Linked DNA regions of Homo sapiens: region 1 is linked to region 2. Evidence: promoter capture Hi-C in 16 types of primary human blood cells and fetal thymus (Javierre and others, 2016). All regions are on one chromosome and are shown on one strand. The core of a region is centred on a gene start or on the middle of the fragment in contact, and the rest is flanking DNA. Distances in the headings are between cores, read along the strand shown.

Region 1 (3,373 bases), core at 206-2,705, 250 kb before region 2:
GCTTATTGCCAAATTTTAGTAGCAACTAAGCACTTAATCATAGGCCATCAAGTTACCATGTGACCCACACTGCCTATCATGAACTATGTGCTGTCTGACCTACCAAGTCATAAATTTGGTGTTAATGGCAGCACTCCATTATCAAATGGAAGTGGTTTATGTAAAATTGAGCTTGAGCAGGCCCTGAAGTCATAAGTAAGTAACATGAGGAAGTGACCCAAATGTCCATGGCCCCCACCCTGGCTACATTACCTTTTTTCTCACTGCCTGCTCTGAAGATGACATGAGGAGTTCTCTACAATCAGTTGACTGAGGAAGAGAAAACTCATATTTGATTTACAAATGGTTCTCTATGATATGCAGGTACTGCCTTAAAGTCGACAGTTAGAGCACCTACAATTTCTTTCTGGGACATCCCTAAAGGAAATTGGTGAAGATAAGTCCTCCCAGTGGGCAGAACTGAGAGGAGTGCACCCGGTTGTGTGCTTTGTTGAAAGGAGAAATAACCAGATATTTAACTATATTCTTTTTTTTTTTTTTTGAGACAGAGTCTTGCTTTGTCACCCAGGCTGGAGTGCAGTGGCATGATCTTGGCTCACTGAAAGCTCCGCCTCCCGGGTTCACGCCATTCTCCTGCCTCAGCCTCCTGAGTAGCTGGGACTACAGGCACCCGCCACCATGCCCGGCTAATTTTTTTGTATTTTTAGTAGAGACGGGGTTTCACTGTGTTAGCCAGGACGGTCTCGATCTCCTGATCTCATGATCCGCCCGCCTCAGCCTCCCGAAGTACTGGGATTACAGGCTTGAGCCACCGTGCCCAGCCGATCTTTAACTGTATTCTAGAGTGGTAGCCAATGATTTGGCTGTATGGTCAGGGACTTGGAAAGAACATTGTATTAGTCAGGGTTCTCTGAAGGACAGAACTAATACAATATATATACATAAAAGGGAGTTTATTAAGGAGTATTAACTCACATGATCGCAGAGTCCCACAATAGGCCATCTGCAAGCTCAGGAGCAAGGAAGCCAGTCCGAGTCCCAAAGCTGAAAAACTTGGAGTTCGATGTTAGAGGGCAGGAAGCATCCAGCATCAGAGAAAGATGTAGGTTGGGAGGCTAAACCAGTCTAATCTTTTCACATTCTTCTGCTTGCTTTTATTCTGGCATGCTGGTAGCTGATTAGATAGATGATGCCCACCAAATTGAGGGTGAGTCTGCCTCTCCCAGTCCACTGACTCAAATGTTAATCTCCTTTGGCAATACCCTCACAGACACACACAGGAACAATACTTTGCATCCTTTAATTCAATCAAGTTGACACTCAGTAATCCATCACAAGTGGACTGAAAAATTTGAAAGGAGGCATTGGACAGATCTTTTTTTTTTTTTTTTGAGACAGGATCTCACTCTATTGCTCAGGCTGCAGTGCAGTGGCGTGATTACAGCTTACTGCAGCTTCCACCTCCTCGGGCTCAGGTGATCCTCCCACCTCAGCCTCCCAAGTAGCTGGAACTACAGGAGTGCACCACCACACCTGGCTAATTTCTGTATTTTTTTGAAGAGATGGTTTCACAATGTTGCCCAGGCTGGTCTCAAACTCTTGGGCTCAAGCGATCCACTCGCCTCAACCTCCCAAAGCGGTGGGATTACAGGCATGAGCCATCACACCCACCCAGGACAGACCTCTCTCAATGGGAAAAAAAAGAAAAGAAGAAAAGAAAAGAAGGATGTATGCCATAAAATTCTCACCAAAGGTGATCTTAGCAGAGGAGGATTTTAATAATGAAGTGAATATAGGATAATCAAGTCTGTGGAAACCAGTCAGTCTCTATTCCAGCCACCTCTGTCAGAACAGGGCTGGGGAAAGAGGCTAACTGGTATCCTCTTTGTTCATGGCTCATGAACAAAGTGGCCACAGTGGCAAGAATGGAGGTCATACATAGGCTCAGCAATATGGATTTCCACTATCCAAGGCCAACCTGGATGCCACTGCTGAGGGCCCAACCAGTCAGCAGCAGACAACAACACTGACTCCAAGTATGGCACTATTCCTCTGGGTGCTCAGTCAGCTTTGTAGTTGATTACATTGAACTACTTCCATCATGGAAGGGGTAGCATTTTGTTCTTACTAGAACAGACCCTCGATACAGATTTGCCTTCCTCATACAAAATTCTGCCAAAATTGTCATCCATGGTCTCATGGAATGCTTTACCCATTGTCATATTCCATACAACATTGCTTCTGATCAAGGAACTCACGTCACAGCAAAAGAATTTCAGTATGAGTCATTGCTCCTGGAATTCACTGGTCTATGTTCCTTATCATGCTAAAGAAGCTGGCCTAATAGGATGATGGGATGGCCTTTTGAAGATTCAGTTATAGCACCAGCTAGGTGGCAATAACTTGCAGGGAGGGCAGAGTTCTCCAGAGGGCTATATATATGCTCTGAATCAGCATCCAATAAATGGTACTTTTTTTCCCTCCATAGCCAGGAATCAAGGGGTAGAAACAAAAGTGGCACCATGCATTATTAACCCTGGTGACCCACTAGCAAAATTTATTCTTCCTGTTCTCATAATTTTATGCCCCACTGGCTTAGAGGTCTTAGTTCCAAAGGGAGAAATTCCTCCACAGGAGACTAATTCTATTAAACTGGAAGTTAAGACTGCCCCCAGTCACTTTGGAGTCAATAGGCTAAGAAGCGACTTACGGTGTTGACTGGGGCGACTGATCCGGACTACCAAGGAGAATCTGAACTACTACTCCACAATGGTGGTAAGGAAGAATATGTCTGGAACACAGGAGATCTCTTAGGGTATCTGTTAATTTTATCATACCCTGTGATTAACGTTAATGGAAAACTACAACAACCCAATCCATGCAGGACTGCTAATGGCCCAGACCCATCAGAAATAAAGTTTGTGTCACCCACCAGGTAAAGAACCATGACCATCTGAAGTGCCTGCTGAAGGCAGAAGGAATATGGCATGGGTAATAGAAGAAGGTGGTTATAAATACCTGTTACGATCACCTGATTAGTTAGGCAAGTATCTTTGTTTTCTTCTCTCTCTTATCCCTTTATCATATGATGTACAATGTATTAATAATAGTTAACTTTATATCACAGTTTTTAAGTTACAGGATAGCAAGAAGAAGGGTGAACATTGCCCGAAACTTTGTATCCTCTTCTGGGGAAAGGGTTAGCACATTTTCAGTTTTATGCAGGAGAGTTGTAGCATGTTAGGCAAAAGTATGACTTTATTATTGTCTTTATCTGGAGATTAAATTATGGTTTAAGGAGATGCAAATGGATGCATAGTTGATAAGGAATGCGCTGTGATGGTTAGTTGTGTGTGACAACTTGCCTAGGATA
Region 2 (2,982 bases), core at 208-2,707:
CAGCATGGCCTTGAGTCACAGCCTCTTCACCTGCCTCCCCACAGCCACATCCTGGTCCTTGTCTTCACCTGATCTGCTTATGCTCAGAAGCCCAAAGCACCCAAATTCCGCTGCCTCAGCATAACCTCCTATCCCGCATCCCCCACACTGATCACAACACACCGCACCATGACCCAGACCCTGGCCTTTCCTTACTGCTCTCCTCTCCCTCCCACCCGGGGCCAGTCATCTTGAAGAAGTCTTCCACATGCCCCTGTCACACTCATCCCTTTACCAAAAGCCCCTACCCCATGGGGTGGGTCAGGCAGGCCCCAAGACAGGCCCGTATCAGGAGGACCCCTCTTCTCTCAGGGGCTGCCCTCTGGGATAACCACCCCCGCCCTTCTGGGTTTCCTGCTTCCTATCTGGCTGCAGTTTCTCAGGTCCCTTGTGGATTTCCCCATGGTCTGTCCCCACTCACATCCCCTCTCTGCAAACCTTGCCTACTGGGCCTGCACCTGGCAAATCCATGCTCAGCACAGACGGGGATCAAGACCTCTCAATACAACTGTCTCCTGCCAATCCCTGCCCCAGCAGCCTGAGGCCCAGTCTGAAACCAGGGAGTTGCTCTCCTTTCTCCTCCCTTGACCTCACCCCTCAGACCATGCCAATTCTGCCTCCTAAACCTCCCAGGCCAGCCCCTCCCCCAGCTCCCAGTGACAGTGTCCTCAGGTACCTGAGCTCAGCTCTCGGTGCTACCAGAGGGACTGCCAGGGGCTGCAGCCGGGCCTCCTGCAGAGGCTGAGTCCCACACGCAGGGAACAGCCATGCCACTGCTAGCAGACCAGTAAGAGAATGGCCACCTGGGGCCTGAGCGCCCTCGGCCATCCACCAGAAACAAAGTGTCAAGGAGAAGCTGCCCGAAGCCCATGGGACAAACCACTGGGGACTGGAACACCAGTAATTCTGTATTGGGAAGCGGCACCAAGAGATGTGCTTCTCAGAGCCTGAGGCTGAACGTGGATGTTTAGCAGCGTGACCGGCTACCAGACAAACTCTCATCTGTTCCAGTGGCCTCCTGGCCACCCACCAGGACCAAGCAGGGCGGGCAGCAGAGGGCCAGGGTAGTCCAGGTGATGGCAGATGAGATCCCACTGGGCAGGAGGCCTCAGTGAGCTGAGTCAGGCTTCCCCTTCCTGCCACAGGGGTCCTCTCACCTGCTGCCATGCTTCCCATCTCTCATCCTCCTTGACAAGATGAAGTGATACCGTTTAAGTAATCTTTTTTCTTGTTTCACTGATCTTGAGTACTAGAAAGTCATGGATGAATAATTACGTCTGTGGTTTTCTATGGAGGTTCCATGTCAGATAAAGATCCTTCCGACGCCTGCCCCACACCACCACCTCCCCCCGCCTTGCCCGGGGTTGTGGGCACCTTGCTGCTGCACATATAAGGCGGGAGGCTGTTGCCAACTCTTCAGAGCCCCACGAAGGACCAGAACAAGACAGAGTGCCTCCTGCCGATCCAAACATGAGCCGCCTGCCCGTCCTGCTCCTGCTCCAACTCCTGGTCCGCCCCGGACTCCAAGCTCCCATGACCCAGACAACGCCCTTGAAGACAAGCTGGGTTAACTGCTCTAACATGATCGATGAAATTATAACACACTTAAAGCAGCCACCTTTGCCTTTGCTGGTGAGTAGCTTGGATAAGACTGGCCTGCAGCAGTGAGGGGTGGTGGCTGCCTAAGGCCAAAAGGCCTCATGGGCCTTTCTCTCCCTTCACCCCCACAGGACTTCAACAACCTCAATGGGGAAGACCAAGACATTCTGATGGTAAGAGCTCAGCCCGTGGATCCCGATCCACTTCCTGCCTGGGTGACTTCAGCCATGTCATTCCATCTTACCTAGCCTTGCTTTCTTCATCTGTAAAATAGGGTTAATAGCACCTATCTCAGTGGGATTGTTATGACAATCAAATGGCACAATGTGCATGTTCTGGCCCAGCATCTGGCACTTAAGAGTTCAATACATGGCCACAGCCATGGCTATAATAATGAAAATGACTTTTAAATTAGAAAATGAAAAGGCAGTTCTAGGTGAGGAATACCAAGGGCCTTAAGGTCAGTGTTTGGTAGGGCAGACTCTGGACTGACAGACAGAAATTTCCCCCTCAGATGTGCCAGCTTCTTTTTCCCTTAAAAAATTGAGTTTGTGTTTTCCACCCTCATTGGCTGTGGCATTATCATTTACAGTTATTTTTCATGGTTCCAGTTGGTTGCAGTTGTTCTGTCTCACCTTTGCATGACATTTCTTGGGTCAAACAAGAAGTGGAAGCCTTTGCTGAGTTCCTGGGCCATCTGTGTTTGGGGCACTCACAGCTCACATGCTGCACCCATTTCCATGCTGGGGTCTCTGTGATTTTCTTCTTGATTTCTAGGAGACTTTAATTCAGTCAGGGCATGAACACTGTTATCAGCCTCTGAGCTACAAATACTTCCCTTGGAAAACCCCCTGTCTTTTGTAGAGCTTCTTTTTGGAGATATTTTTTCCCCCAAGTGCAGAAAGATCCACCTAGGTACCCCCTCCCCACCCATTTTTTTTTTTTTTTTTGAGACAAGAGTCTCACTCTGTTGCCCAGGCTGGAGTGCAGTGGCACGATCTCAGCTCACTGCTACCTCTGCCTCCTGAGTTCAAGCAATTCTCCTGTCTCAGCCTCCCAAGTAGCTAGGATTACAGGCATGCACCACCACTCCCATTTTTGTATTTTTAGTAGAGACGGGGTTTCACCATATTGGTCAGGCTGGTCTTGAACTCGACCTCAGGTTATCTGCCTGCCTCGGCCTCCCAAAGTGCTGGGATTACAGGCTTGAGCCACTGCGCCCAGCCCACCTAGGCCCTTTATGTAGCTCAAATGGAGCCAGAGACTGGGGGCTTGAGGAAACCAGGTCCTGCCTGCCACTCACTTCTAGGCCTGTGCCCTTGGGCAGGGACCCACCTGAGGCAA

What was found. Contacts are between HindIII fragments. The CHiCAGO score rates a contact against its expected background, and 5 or more counts as called.
Region 1: a fragment that was not itself captured here is called in contact with the fragment with the promoter of IL3 in region 2 in 1 of 17 cell types (megakaryocytes); the score reaches 5.2 in megakaryocytes.

The regions. Positions count from the first base shown.
Region 1 is chr5:131,812,904-131,816,276 of GRCh38, forward strand. The region is part of intron 12 of MEIKIN (meiotic kinetochore factor); the gene reads right to left. Among named protein-coding and RNA genes, the nearest start is that of FNIP1, 18 kb to the left of the region's middle. The HindIII fragment of the contact is 7,329 bases long and covers 1-3,373 here.
Region 2 is chr5:132,059,198-132,062,179 of GRCh38, forward strand. IL3 (interleukin 3) reads left to right here and starts at 1,458. Exons shown (of 5, transcript NM_000588.4): 1 at 1,458-1,671; 2 at 1,770-1,811. The coding sequence starts at 1,510. LOC105379174 (a long non-coding RNA gene) reads right to left here. Exons shown (of 5, transcript XR_001742531.2): 2 at 2,274-2,411. The HindIII fragment of the contact is 14,005 bases long and covers 1-2,982 here.